Regions from separate parts of the Homo sapiens genome. Here region 1 is linked to region 2. Evidence: promoter capture Hi-C in 16 types of primary human blood cells and fetal thymus (Javierre and others, 2016). All regions are on one chromosome and are shown on one strand. The core of a region is centred on a gene start or on the middle of the fragment in contact, and the rest is flanking DNA. Distances in the headings are between cores, read along the strand shown. Region 1 overlaps SESN2 (sestrin 2). Region 2 holds the start of PHACTR4 (phosphatase and actin regulator 4).

Region 1 (6,361 bases), core at 1,348-3,847, 100 kb before region 2:
CACCATTGTTATTACTGACTCCCCAGTCCAGGGAATTGGGCAGGGAGGGCTGACTTGGAGGGGTCATTTCTTGGCAGTGGTATGCTGCCCTGCCTGCTTCCTCTGTCAGGATCGGGGAAGCATTCAGGGTATTGGAGCCATGGATTCAAATCTACTTGGTTTTGCCTTCAGGGCTTTATACTCGCGTTCCCTCTGGCTGGAATGCTGGTCCCCCTAGTTTTTGGGGTGTGTGTTTGTTTGTTTTGAGACGGAGTTTCACTCTTGTTGCCCAGGCTGGAGTGCAATGGTGCGATCTCAGCTCACCACAACCTCCACCTCCTGGGTTCAAGCAATTCTCCTGCCTCAGCCCCCCGAGTAGCTGGGACTACAGGCATGCACCACCATGCCTGGCTAATTTTTTGTATTTTTAGTAGAGACGGGGTTTCTCCATGTTGGTCAGGCTGGTCTCGAACTCCCAACCTCTGGTGATCCGCCTGCCTCGGCCTCTCAAAGTGCTGGGATTTCAGGCGTGAGCCACTGCGCCCGGCCTGTTTGTTTTTTAAGAGAGGGTGTCCTGCTGTGTTGTCCAGACTGTTCTCAAATTCCTAGCCTCAGGTGATCCTCCACCACCAAGCCTTCCAAAGTACCGGGGTTACAGGTGTGAACCACCCCACTTAGGCCCCCTAGATCTTTACAGGCCTTGCTGTCTTCTCATCATTTAGATAACAGCTCAAAGACCACCTCCTCAATGGCTTCTCCTGTCTACTTACACTAAAATATTGCACACTCTCCCTCCCCATCATACAGTTACTGTTTATTTCACTCACTTTATAGAATCTGTGCTTTGAAATCCTGTTTATCAGATTCTGAATTATATGAAGGCCAAGGGCTTTGTCTTTTCACTGCTGTATTCTTGCTGCTTGCAATATAGCCATCAAAAATATTTGTTGAGTGAACAAATTAATTCTGTTTCCACCTAGAAAGCACTTAGCATAGTGCCTTATACTTGAGAAAGTGATCAATAAATGGTGTAAACAATGGTCCTCACCCTGGCTGTTATGCTGGGGCCCCACCCCAGATAACTAAATTAGAATTGCGGGAGGTGGGACCTTGGCATTGTTATTTTTGTAAAGCTTCTCAAAGGATTCTAATGTACCGCTTGGGTTGAGAAGCCCTTGTTTGATACAGCAAGGAGGTTAATGATACCTGACTTTTTATTAAGTGCTTATTGTTATGGAGGTATTGAGGTAAGCTACACAGTGTTATCTCATGAAATCCTCATCACTGGCCAGTGGAAGTAGTTACTGCTATCCCCATTATTTGGTAAAGAAACTGAGGCTCATAAAGCTAAGGGATAGCAGGTGGTGGAGCTGTCATTTGAGCTCATGCAATTTGTGTCAAGAGCCCCATCTTTTTTTTTTTTTTTTTTTTTGAGACAGGGTCTTGCCCTGTTGCTCAGGCTGGAATGCCGTGGTGCGATCATAGCTTGCTGTAACCTCAAACTCCTGGGCTCAGGCAGTCCTCCTGCCTCAGCCTCCTGAGTAGCTGGGACTACAGGTTGTGTGCTACCATGCCCAGCTAATTTACTGTTTGTGGAGACAGGGGTCTCACTGTGTTGCCCAGGCTGGTCTCGAATTCCTGGCCTCAAGCGATCCTCTTGCCTCAGTGTCCCAACGTGCTGGGATGAGCTGCTGCGCCAGCCAAGGGCCCCTATCTTTTAACTGCATTGTATATTGTTGTTGTTGTTGTTATTGCTGAAAGTGTTGATGGATCCAGACCGATGACTTAGAGCTCCTTCTTTTGACAATTCCTGGGTCAGATTTTGGAGTGAGTTGGGATTCCCAAGGCTATTCCTATCCTTCCCTAGCACCCCTGATGGGCCGTCTCTGCCTCCCCCAGTTTTGCTCCACCCTACCCTGCTGTGGCTTGCTATTCTGTCCTCAGGTCCCCTGAGGTGGAGGCCCAGTTTGTGGAGTCAGCAATCCTTATCTCCTATACAGAGCTGTTGGGCTTTTTCTTTGGTGAGGGGGAGGGAAGCTCCAAAGGGGAGTGCTCAGGGATTGTGTTGGTTACTACGCTGAACTTGGACCAGCCTGGCCCGGAAGTTCCCAGAAGTGTGGGCTGAAGGGGGCCTGCACGGTCAGCTCAACTCCCTTTTTGAAGGTAGCTGGGCTACTTTACCTACCAGTTTAGTAGGTAAAGAGAGTTTAGGCCTTTAACTTTCCCAGAGCCACATAGCAAGTTAGTTGCAGAATTGGTACCTATTCCAGAGACTTTGTAGTCTTCTGGAGTCCCAGAGCTCTGCCTCCTCAGTGGGCTTTTGGCCATCTGAGAAGGAAGGTTCAATTATAGTTTTTGGTTCCCGGATACCTGAGGGCTGGTACTAAGTCTGGATCTTAATGGGAAGGGGAGAACTGGGCGCCTCCTATCCCTGTCCAGTGAGAGCATGGCTCTGATTTGGGTAAACTGTAAACAAGACCAGTGCTGAGAGCCACCTCCACTCTCAGATTAACAAAATAAATTAATAAGTAGAGCATCCTTCCTGAACCCCATCTCTAGGACTAGGAGAAGCAGATGTAGTGAGTACCTGATATTAGTGGTTTCTAAAGAGGCTGCAGCATATAACAGGTCAAAACAGTTGCTCCCATCAGCCTTGTACACCCTGCTCAGATTCCCTCCGTGCCTTTCTGCTTTCTCTGTCTTCATTCACAGACTAGTATGAATGACCTGGCGCTGCTCTCCACTAAATGTGATCTGGTGTCAGGGAAACAAAACAGACAATTTGATGACAGTGTTTTTAGAAGCAAAAGCCCTGGGAATTTTGGGGTCATAGGTGAGGGCCAGAAAAAGGTTCCTAGACTATTGTGGTTTAGCTTTGCAAAAGGAGTGACCACTGGGACTGGGCCAGTTGTATCTGGAAGCCCATGGGAGGGGGAGGTAGGGTTTTAAGCCAGTTGATCGGATTTATATTCAGAAAGTTAATGTGGCTACTGGGTAGAGGATGGATAGGAGAGGCCAGGGCTAAGGAGGCCGGGGGACAACTGGCGAGGTTGTGAGTAGTGGTCCAGACAAGAGGGGGTGGTAGTTAATGAGGTGGTGGTGGTGGGAGGACAGATAAGCAGCCAGGCATGGTGACTCCCATCTGTAATCCCAGTGCTTTGGGAGGCCAAGGCAGGAGGATCCATTGAGCCCAGCAGTTTGAGGCTATAGTGAGCTATGACTGCACCACTAAAGAAGAGGCCAGGCGTGGTGGCTCATTCCAGTAATCCCAGCACTTTGGGAGGCTGAGGTGGGCGGATCACCTGAGGTTGGGGATTCGAGACCAGCCTGGCCAACATGGAGAAACCCAGTTTCTACTAAAAATATAAAATTAGGTGAGCGTGGTTGTGCATGCCTGTAATCCCAGCTACTCGGGAGGCTGAGGCAGGAGAATCGCTTGAACCCAGGAGGCAGAGGTTGCAATGAGCTGAGATCGCACCATTGCACTCCAGCCTGGGCAACAAGAGCGATACTCCGTCTCAAAAAAAAAAAGAAGCAAAAGAAGGAAGGAGAAGGAAGGAAGGAAGGAAGAAGGAGGAGGAGGAGGAAGAAAGGAAGGAAGGAAGGAACGAACGAACATGTGAGAGAAATTGAAGCTGCTTCTGAAGCATCTGGGGTACTTGGTTACCTGGCTTCAGGGTGCAAACTGTGGTGTGTTCTTGTATAAGTTCTCTGGGACCACTAAGAAGGTGGCCTCCTGGAGATGTGCAGCATGATGGCTATATAGTTCCTTTTCCAGGACCCTCCCATCCCGCAATGCTGGGATTCTTGGGTCCCAACCCAGTTCCTGAAGAACTCAGCCTGGAGTGAGCCCTCTTTCTTGATTACCCTTCCAAACATGTGTATATCTCCCATCTGGCTCCACCATCCAAAGTATGCTAGAAAGGTGGGTTTAACACTTCAGTGTAGCCCCTTGGATAGGAGGAAGAGGCTGGATAGGTAATAATCCTCTTTATTCTCCCTTCTACTACGGACTAACCTCATATGTTTCCTCCCAGGAGCAGAGGGAGAGCCGGGCTCGGCGAGGCCCTCGAGGGCCCAGCGCCTTCATCCCCGTGGAGGAGGTAAGCTTGGAAGGGGTTAGGGATCTTTGGTCCCTGGGAAGAAAGGACATGGCATATTGGTAGGCAGGCATCTTTTCCTGTTCTTTAAATTGCAGCTTTTAAGCTATTCCTTTCTGATTTCTGATTCATTTAATTCACAAAACGGCTTTGTGAAGCAGGCACTGTCAACTCCATTTTACTGGGAAGAAACAGGCTCAAAGAAATCAAGTGCTAATAGCCAGGTAGTGGCCAAACTTTTTTTTTTTTTCATGCTCAAACTTTTGATTCCTAGATCAGTGCCTGCTTTCCCTTAAGAAGATAGAACTATCTATCTCATCCATGACCATACATATATTACACGCTCTTTTCTGTTTTAAAAGTAATATATGTTTATTATTTTAAAAATTTCCATTGTTTCAGAAAGCTCTGATCTCCTGTATCCTCCTGCACCCTGCAGAGATCATCACTGTTAACCATTTGCCACTGTTTACTGTGCTTTTTTCAAGCCAATACTTACTTTCAGTACAGAACCAAGGTCATAGTTTACAACGTGTTTTTTTGTTTTGTTTTTCACTTAATACAAGAAAGACATCTTTCATCTACTGAGTCAGTTCATTCATTCATTTACTTAACATATCTATTAAATGATTAATCTATGTCAGGCACTGTTCTGGTTGCTTGGGATATAGTAGTGAACAAGACAGACAAAAATATTTGCCATTATGGAGCTTACATTCTAGTGTGTTGGGATAGTGGAGTTACCTTCAAAACATGCAGAAAAATGTAAAACTAGTTTCCTCATTTTATTTGGCCATCAGTGAACAAGGACAAATTTTTTGTTTTGCCGGCCGCAGTGGCTCACGCCTGTAATCCCAACACTTTGGGAGGCCGAGGCGGGCGGATCACGAGGTCAGGAGATCGAGACCATCCTGGCTAACACGGTGAAGCACCGTCTCTACTAAAAATACAAAAAATTAGCCAGGCGTGGTGGCGGGCGCCTGTAATCCCAGCTACTCTGGAGGCTGAGGCAGGAGAATGGCATGAACCCGGGAGGCGGAGCTTGCAGTGAGCCGAGATCGCGCCACTGCACTCCAGCTTGCGTGACAGAGTGAGACTCCGTCTCAAAAAAAAAAAAAAAAATTTGTTTCCTCTCTTTGCTTTTCCTAAATGTGTAGGGCGAGTGGTTAAGGAGCTAACAAACATTTACCCTCCTTCTAAACCCCTTGTTCCTCTACTCCTTTGTAAATATAAGGCGAACAACCACTTGCCGATTATTTATGTCTGTGACCCAGAATTCTAAGCTCAAGTATTGCTCTTGTCTTTTATTTTTTCATTTATAAGTGACCACCTTTTTTTTTTTTGAAACGAAGTTTTGTTCTTGTTGCCCAGGCTGGAGTGCAATGGCACGATCTTGGCTCACCGCAACCTCTGCCTCCCAGGTTCAAGCAATTCTCCTGCCTCAAGCCTCCCGAGTAGCTGGGATTACAGGCATGAGCCACCACGCCCAGCTAATTTTGTATTAGCAGAGATGGGGTTTCTCCATGTTGGTCAGGCTGGTCTCAAACTCCGGACCTTAGGTGATCTGCCCATCTCTGCCTCCCAATGTGCTGGGATTACAGATGTGAGCCACCGTGCCCAGCCCACTCTTTTATAATAAAGAGAAGAAACAGGCAGCCAGGCACAGTAGCTCATGCCTGTAATCCCAGCACTTTGGGAGGCCAAGGTTTGGGGATCACTTGAGCCCAGGAGTTCGAGACCAGCCTGGACAACATAGTGGGACCCCGTCTGTATTAAAAAAAAAAGTTAAAAAGAAATAGGCTTTGGAGTTCATCTGGATTTGAATCTGCTTCTGTTATTTATCAGATCTGTGACTTTGAGCAAGGAAGAAAACTTCCTGGTTTCCTCATCTGGCAAAGTGGGGGAAATAATAGTATTCACCTCACAGGCTTATTGGCTAGATCCCATGAAATCACGCGGAGAAAACTGTAAGCTCAGGGATGGCATGGAGACAGCACTCAGGAAATGTGAACTATTTTGCACCCGCCCCCATGGTTATATGCATTTGCAGTGTTAGAATAGACACTCCATGAAGGGAGGAGAAACTGTACTTTTACTCTCTGTGCCTGATTTTTCCTACCTAAAAGTGGAGAAACAGAACTCCAGTTTTATAGTTGTTGTGAGAGTTAAATAAGTTAAAATATGCATTCTTGAACAGTGCTTGGCACATAGCATTGTATGTGTAAGTACTGGCCATTATTATATAAGGTACCTAATAAGTATTTATTGAATCACTTATTAAA
Region 2 (6,141 bases), core at 3,359-5,858:
GGTGAGGCAAGCTGCACCAGCAGTTCCTGGGGGTGTGCGCGGTGGATGGCACCCAACACCCCTGCGTTTATCTCTTTGTGATAGCTTAAGTTCCTGCACCTGGAACTGTTTATTTTTTTGTAACTGCATTTGTAACCAATTAATTTTTTAACCTTTTGCCAGTTCTGCTTCTGTAAAAATTGTTTCAGTTAAAAGCCCCCCACCCCTATTTAGACCAAGGTATAATAACTAACCTAGCCCCTTCCTCGGGGCCGAGAGAATTTTGGGCATTAGCTGCCTCTCGATTGCCGGCTAATAAAGGACTCTTTAATTTGTCTCAAAGTGTGGCATTTCTCTATAACTCGCTTGGTTACAACAATTTCAACCTCCACCTCCCAGGCTCAAGCTATCCTCACAACTAAGTCTCCCAAGTAGCTGGGACTACAGGTGCCCATCACCATACCTGACTAATTTTTGTTTTTTTTTTTTTTTTTTGAGACAGAGTCTCGCTCTGTCACCCAGGCTCTGGAGTGCAGTGGCGCAAACTCGGCTCACTGCAAGCTCTGCCTCCCATGTTCATGCCATTCTCCTGCCTCAGCCTCCTGAATAGCTGGGACTACAGGTGCCCGCCACCAGGCCTGGCTAATTTTTTTGTATTTTTAGTAGAGATGGGGTTTCACTGTGTTAGTCAGGATAGTCTTGATCTCCTGGCCTTGTGATCCACCTGCCTCGGCCTCCCAAAGTGCTGGGATTACAGGCGTGAGCCACCGCGCCCAGACTAATTTTTGTATTTTTTTTTTTTTTGTAGAGACAGGGTTTTGCCATGTTGTCCAGGTTGGTCTCGAACTAGTGAGCTCAAGCGATCTGCCTGCCTTAACCTTCCAAAGTGCTGGGATTACAGGCAGGAGCCACTGCACCCAGCCTTGACGAGTTTTGATATATTTATACAACCTTGAAACCATAACCATACACCCTTGAAACCATAACCACAATCAGGATATTAAAAAAAACCTGCCAAACCAGTTTCCAAAGCGGTTTTATCACCTTAAAATGGTACCATCAGTGTATGAGAATTGTTGTTGCTCTACATTCATGCTAATACTTGGTATTGCCAGTCCTTTCAGCCATTCTGGTGGGTGTGTAGTGTAATCTCATTGCGTTTCCTTTTTTCCCCCCAACATCTTTCATGTTATTTGCCATCCATTTAGTTTCTCTCTTTGGTAAATTGTCTCTGCTAATTGTTTTTCAAATTGGGTTGTTTGTCTTCTTGTTGAGTTGAAATAACTCTGTATATTTCCAGGTAATGGTTACATGTTTTGCGCAATTTTACTCTGATCTGTGGCTTGTCTTCATTTTCTCTCTCTTTCTCTCTTTTCTTTCTTTCTTTCTTTCTTTTTTTTTTTTGACGGAGTTTTGCCCAGGCTGGAGTGCAATGGCGCAATCTCTGCTCACTGCAACCTCAGCCTCCTGGGTTCAAGCAATTCTCCTGCCTCAGCCTCCCAAGAAGCTGGGATTACAGGCATGCACCACCACATCTGGCTAATTTTTTTGTATTTTAATAGAGATGGGGTTTCACCATGTTGGCCAGGCTGGTCCTGAACTCCTGACCTCAGGTGATCCACTCGCTTCAGCCTCTGAAAGTGTGGGGATTACATGGGTGAGTCACTGAGCCTGGCCAGCTTATCTTTCTTTTCTTTTTTTTTTTTTTTTTTTTGAGACGGAGTCTCGCTCTGTCGCCCAGGCTGGAGTGCAGTGGCACAGTCTCCGCTCACTGCAAGCTCTGCCTCCCAGGTTCACACCATCCTCCTGCCTCAGCCTCCCGAGTAGCTGGGACCACAGGCGCCCACCACCACGCCCGGCTAATTTTTTGTATTTTTAGTAGAGACGGGGTTTCACTGTGTTAGCCAGGATGGTCTCGATCTCCTGACTTCGTGATCTGCCCACCTCGGACTCCCAAAGTGCTGGGATTACAGGCGTGAGCCACCGCGCCCGGTTTTATCTTTATTTTCATAACAGTCTTGACTAAAGTTTGAAATTTTGATGATATACAATTTATTCAATTTTTTTCTTTTCTTTTCTTTTCTTTTTTTTTTTTTTGAGACGGAGTCTCGCTCTGTTGCCCAGGCTGGAGTGCAGTGGCAAGATCTCGGCTCACTTGCAAGCTCTGCCTCCCGGGTTCACGCCATTCTCCTGCCTCAGCCTCCCGAGTAGCTGGGACTACAGGAGCCCGCCATCGCGCCCAGCTAATTTTTTGTATTTTTAGTAGAGATGGGGTTTCACCGTGTTAGCCAGGATGGTCTCAATCTCCTGACTTTGTGATCCACCTGCCTCGGCCTCCCAAAGTGCTAGGATTACAGGCGTGAGCCACCACGCCCGGCAATTTTTTTCTTTTTAAAATTTATTTATTTATATTTTAGAGATGGAGTCTCACTGTGTTGCCCAGGCTGGTCTTGAACCCATGGTCTCAACCAGCCCTCCAGCCTTGGCCTTCCAGAGTGCTGGAATTACAGGCATGAGTTATCATGTGTAGCCTATTAATTTAAAAAAATATATTTTTTAATTTTATTTTTGAGACTGAGTTTCCCTCTTGTAACCCAGGCTGGAGTGCAATGGTGCGATCTCGGCTCCCTGAAACCTCCGCCTCCTGGGTTCAAGCGCTTCTCCTGCCTCACCCTCCTGAGTAGCTGGGATTACAGGGGTGGGCCATCACGCCCAATAAATTTTTGTATTTTTTTTTTTTAAGACGGGATCTCGCTCTGTTGCCCAGGCTGGAGTGCAGTGGCGCGATCTCAGATCACTGCAAGCTCTGCCTCCCGGGTTCACGCCATTCTCCTGCCTCAGCCTCCCGAGTTGCTGGGACTACACGCGCCCTCCACCACGCCCGGCTAATTTTTTGTATTTTTAGTAGAGACAGGGTTTCATTGCGTTAGCCAGGATGGTCTCGATATCCTGACCTCGTGACCCGCCCGCCTCAGCCTCCCAAAGTGCTGGGATTACAAGTGTGAGCCACCGTGCCCGGCCAATTTTTGTATTTTTAGTAGAGATGTGGTTTCACCATTTTGGAGAGGCTGGTCTCGAACTCCTGACCTCAGGTGATCTACCAGCCTCAACCTCACAAAGTGCTGGGATTACAGGCGTGAGCCACCGTGCCAGGCCAATAAATATATTTTAAATATTTTTTTGAGACAAGGTCTCCCTCTGTCGTCCAGGCTGGAGTGTAGCGACACCATCACAGCTCATTGCAGCCTGGACCTCCCCAGCTCAAATAATCCTCCTATTTCAGCCTCCTGAGTACCTGGGACTACAGGCACGTTCCATCATGCCCAGCTAATTTTTAAAATTGTTTTTGTAGAGATGGGGCCTCACTCTGTTGCCCAGGCTGGCAGGCTGGTCTCAAACTCCAGGGCTCAAGGGATCCTCCCGCCTTAGCCTCCCAAAGTGCTGGGATGAGAGGTGTGAGCCACTGCACCCGGCCAATTTTTTTTTCTTCTTTTTTCTTTTTCTATTGAGACAGGGTCTTGCTCTGCTGCCCAGGCTGGAGTGCACTGGTGCGATCTCGACCCCCCAGGCTCAAGTGATCATCTCACCTCAGCCTCCCACGTAGCTGGGACTACAGGAGCTTGGCACTAGGCCCCGGATAATTTGTTTGTTTGTTTGTTTGTTTGTTTTGCGACGGAGTCTTGCTCTGTCGCCCAGGCTGGACTGCAATGGCAAGATCTCGGCTCACTGCAACCTCCGCCTCCTGGGTTCAAGCGATTCTCCTGCCTCAGCCTCCTGAGTAGCTGGGATTACAGGCATGCGCCACCGCGCCTGGCCAATTTTTTTAATTTTATGGATAGTGTATTTGAAAAGTCACATCGATTTTTCTCCTGGAATGTCCTCTAGATGTGCCGTAGCTTCAAGTTTTACATGTAGGTCTAATTTAGGTTGTGTGATACAATGGGTTTGCATTTAGAAGGGTCCTCTGGCAGCAGCAAGGAAGGTTTTCGGAGGGTGATAGCCTAGGGCCTGAAACTACTGAGACTTGGAGAGAAGTGATGGTGGCTTTCACTAGGTGATAGTAGTGAAGGATATCGAAATGAATTAAAATACTGGGGATGTAGAATGACTGGACTTAATGGCTTGAGGGAAGTGTCCAGAATGATTCCTGGGTTTCTTACGCACAACACTGAGGGTAGATAACTTGCTTGTACGTTTTTTGCACTTCAAATTGGTCCTCAATAAATAGTTTTTCCTTTGGGGAGGTTATGATTGAAATTTGGCCAGTCAGGGATACAGTTTTCTCAAACAACACTCTTGTATCAGTTCCCTTTTTGGGTACTGCCTGGAGCCCAGTATTGAACCCTGTCCTCCCAAGCCCAAAGACCTTTGCCTCCCATAGTACCAGGAAAGGTGCCCAAGTTCTTTTACACACAAGGTGCGCAGAGCGGCCAGCGCATGCCCAGAGAGGTCGTAAGGAGGACGACCGCCCGGAGAGAAAGGACGCACGCTTCCCGCCATTTTGTTCAGCTTGCCGGGCAACCGGCCCCTGCTGGGGACTACAAGTCCCGTAAGCCTCCGCGGCGGCACGTCCTACCCTACACTGTCCAGCCGGCTCCCTTTTTCCCCCTCCCCGGGGGCCAAGGGCTCCGGCTGCTGCCTGGCGGCCAACGGGCCAGGTAGGATTTCCGGGAGAGGCTGCTGTGGAGGCTGAGGAGGCGGCGGCGGAGATCTGGGTAAGTTCAGCGAGCAAGGGAAAGTGAGCAGGACGCGCTCAGTATCAGGCTGCGGCCTCCTCTCAGGCTGCGGCCCCTTTCTTGGCTCTGCGAGAGGGTCCCGGTCCGGGCAGAAGGTAACGGCCCGGGTCGCCGTCGCTTCGGGCCAGGGCGGGGCGGGGCCGCCGCCTCCCTCCTCGGCCCTCCCACAACGGTCCAACCCGGGCTTCTCCGCCTGAGGCAGGGCCCGCGCAGGCTCGCCCTCTCCGCCCCCCGAGACTTGGCTGGGCCCTTTTGTCTGGGCTGCGTTGCTCCCCCTTTGTGTCCGTGCATGGAGTCTCCGCCACGGGGGAGCCTGTTCCCCCGGTCCCCAACAGGGACTGCTCCCTGGGGATCCGGTTACAGTAACCGGATCGGGTCAAAGTACATTTTTCAAAACCGTCCTGCCTCAGACCTCTGCACCCCTGCTGGGCAGAACGGGGGCTTCGGAGCCAGGCGGAGTTTCTGTAAAAACCTGGAGGTTATTATTTAACTTTCAAACATCAGCCTGGGCGGCTTCAGGGCACGAAACTCCCGACGTTTTTCTTGGTGGAGAGATGAGATTAAGGAAAAGAAGCGACCCCTCTCTCCCACCCTCTACACCCCGGCTCCGGGAAACCGGGAAGGCATCGAATTTGCTGCGATGTCTGTGCAGCTCACATCTGTGATCGGTGGACCAAAGAACCAGTGGTGAATGGTAGAATGGCAGTTCACGCACCTCCCAAATCTCGGAGGAGAGTGACTTACAGGGCATCACTGATTGCTTGCAAAAAAAAAAAACCCTCCAGTGCTTCATTCGGACACTCAGCTCCTCGCTCCTTCCAACCTCTTCCTTTTCTTGTTCTTTTTAAAACAAACAGTGGAAGGAAAAAGTCCTTCAGTGGAAGAATTTGCTTTATAGAGGAACCAGAAACCCAGTGGCTTCTAGAAGTCACTTACTTTTTCGCCAAATTAAAGAAATGAATTTCGGGCGTGGTGGCGCGCGCCTGTAATGCCAACTATTCTGGAGGCTGAGGCAGGAGAATCGCTTGAGGCCAGAAGTTCGCGACCAGCCTGGGCAACACAGCAAGACCCCATCTTAAAAAAAAAAGGAATGAAGCCCGTTTAGAAATGAAGCCAGTTTAGGGGATGAGGTGTGGTAGATTCTTACCGGAAACCGCGGAACTGCGTGGATTGTGGATTCGATCAAATTTGGCTAGATAATGGTAACTGTGTATGTCCTCCTGTTGGAAGACTGCATTGCTAGAATCAGCTTAAGGTAAAATTTGTTTGTTTGTTTCATTTAAGAGACAAGAGTCTAGCTTGGTTGCTGAAGCTTGAGTACAGTGGAGAGCTCCTAGTTCACTGTAGCCTCGAACTTCTTGGCTTAAGCCATCCTTCCACCAGAGGCTCCCAGATGCCTGGGACTAGAGGCATGAGCCACTGTGCC

Evidence for each region. Contacts are between HindIII fragments. The CHiCAGO score rates a contact against its expected background, and 5 or more counts as called.
Region 1: a contact is called between a fragment that was not itself captured here and the fragment with the promoter of PHACTR4 in region 2, in 1 of 17 cell types (M1 macrophages). The highest score is 6.3, in M1 macrophages.

What each region holds. Positions count from the first base shown.
Region 1 is chr1:28,265,167-28,271,527 of GRCh38, forward strand. It overlaps SESN2 (sestrin 2), which reads left to right. Exons shown (of 10, transcript NM_031459.5): 2 at 4,017-4,082. Among named protein-coding and RNA genes, the nearest start is that of SESN2, 8.8 kb to the left of the region's middle. The HindIII fragment of the contact is 2,975 bases long and covers 1,111-4,085 here.
Region 2 is chr1:28,365,132-28,371,272 of GRCh38, forward strand. It overlaps PHACTR4 (phosphatase and actin regulator 4), which reads left to right and starts at 4,609. Exons shown (of 14, transcript NM_001048183.3): 1 at 4,609-4,694. RefSeq lists enhancers at 3,781-4,736, 4,387-4,681 and a silencer at 4,763-4,982. The HindIII fragment of the contact is 7,867 bases long and covers 1-6,025 here.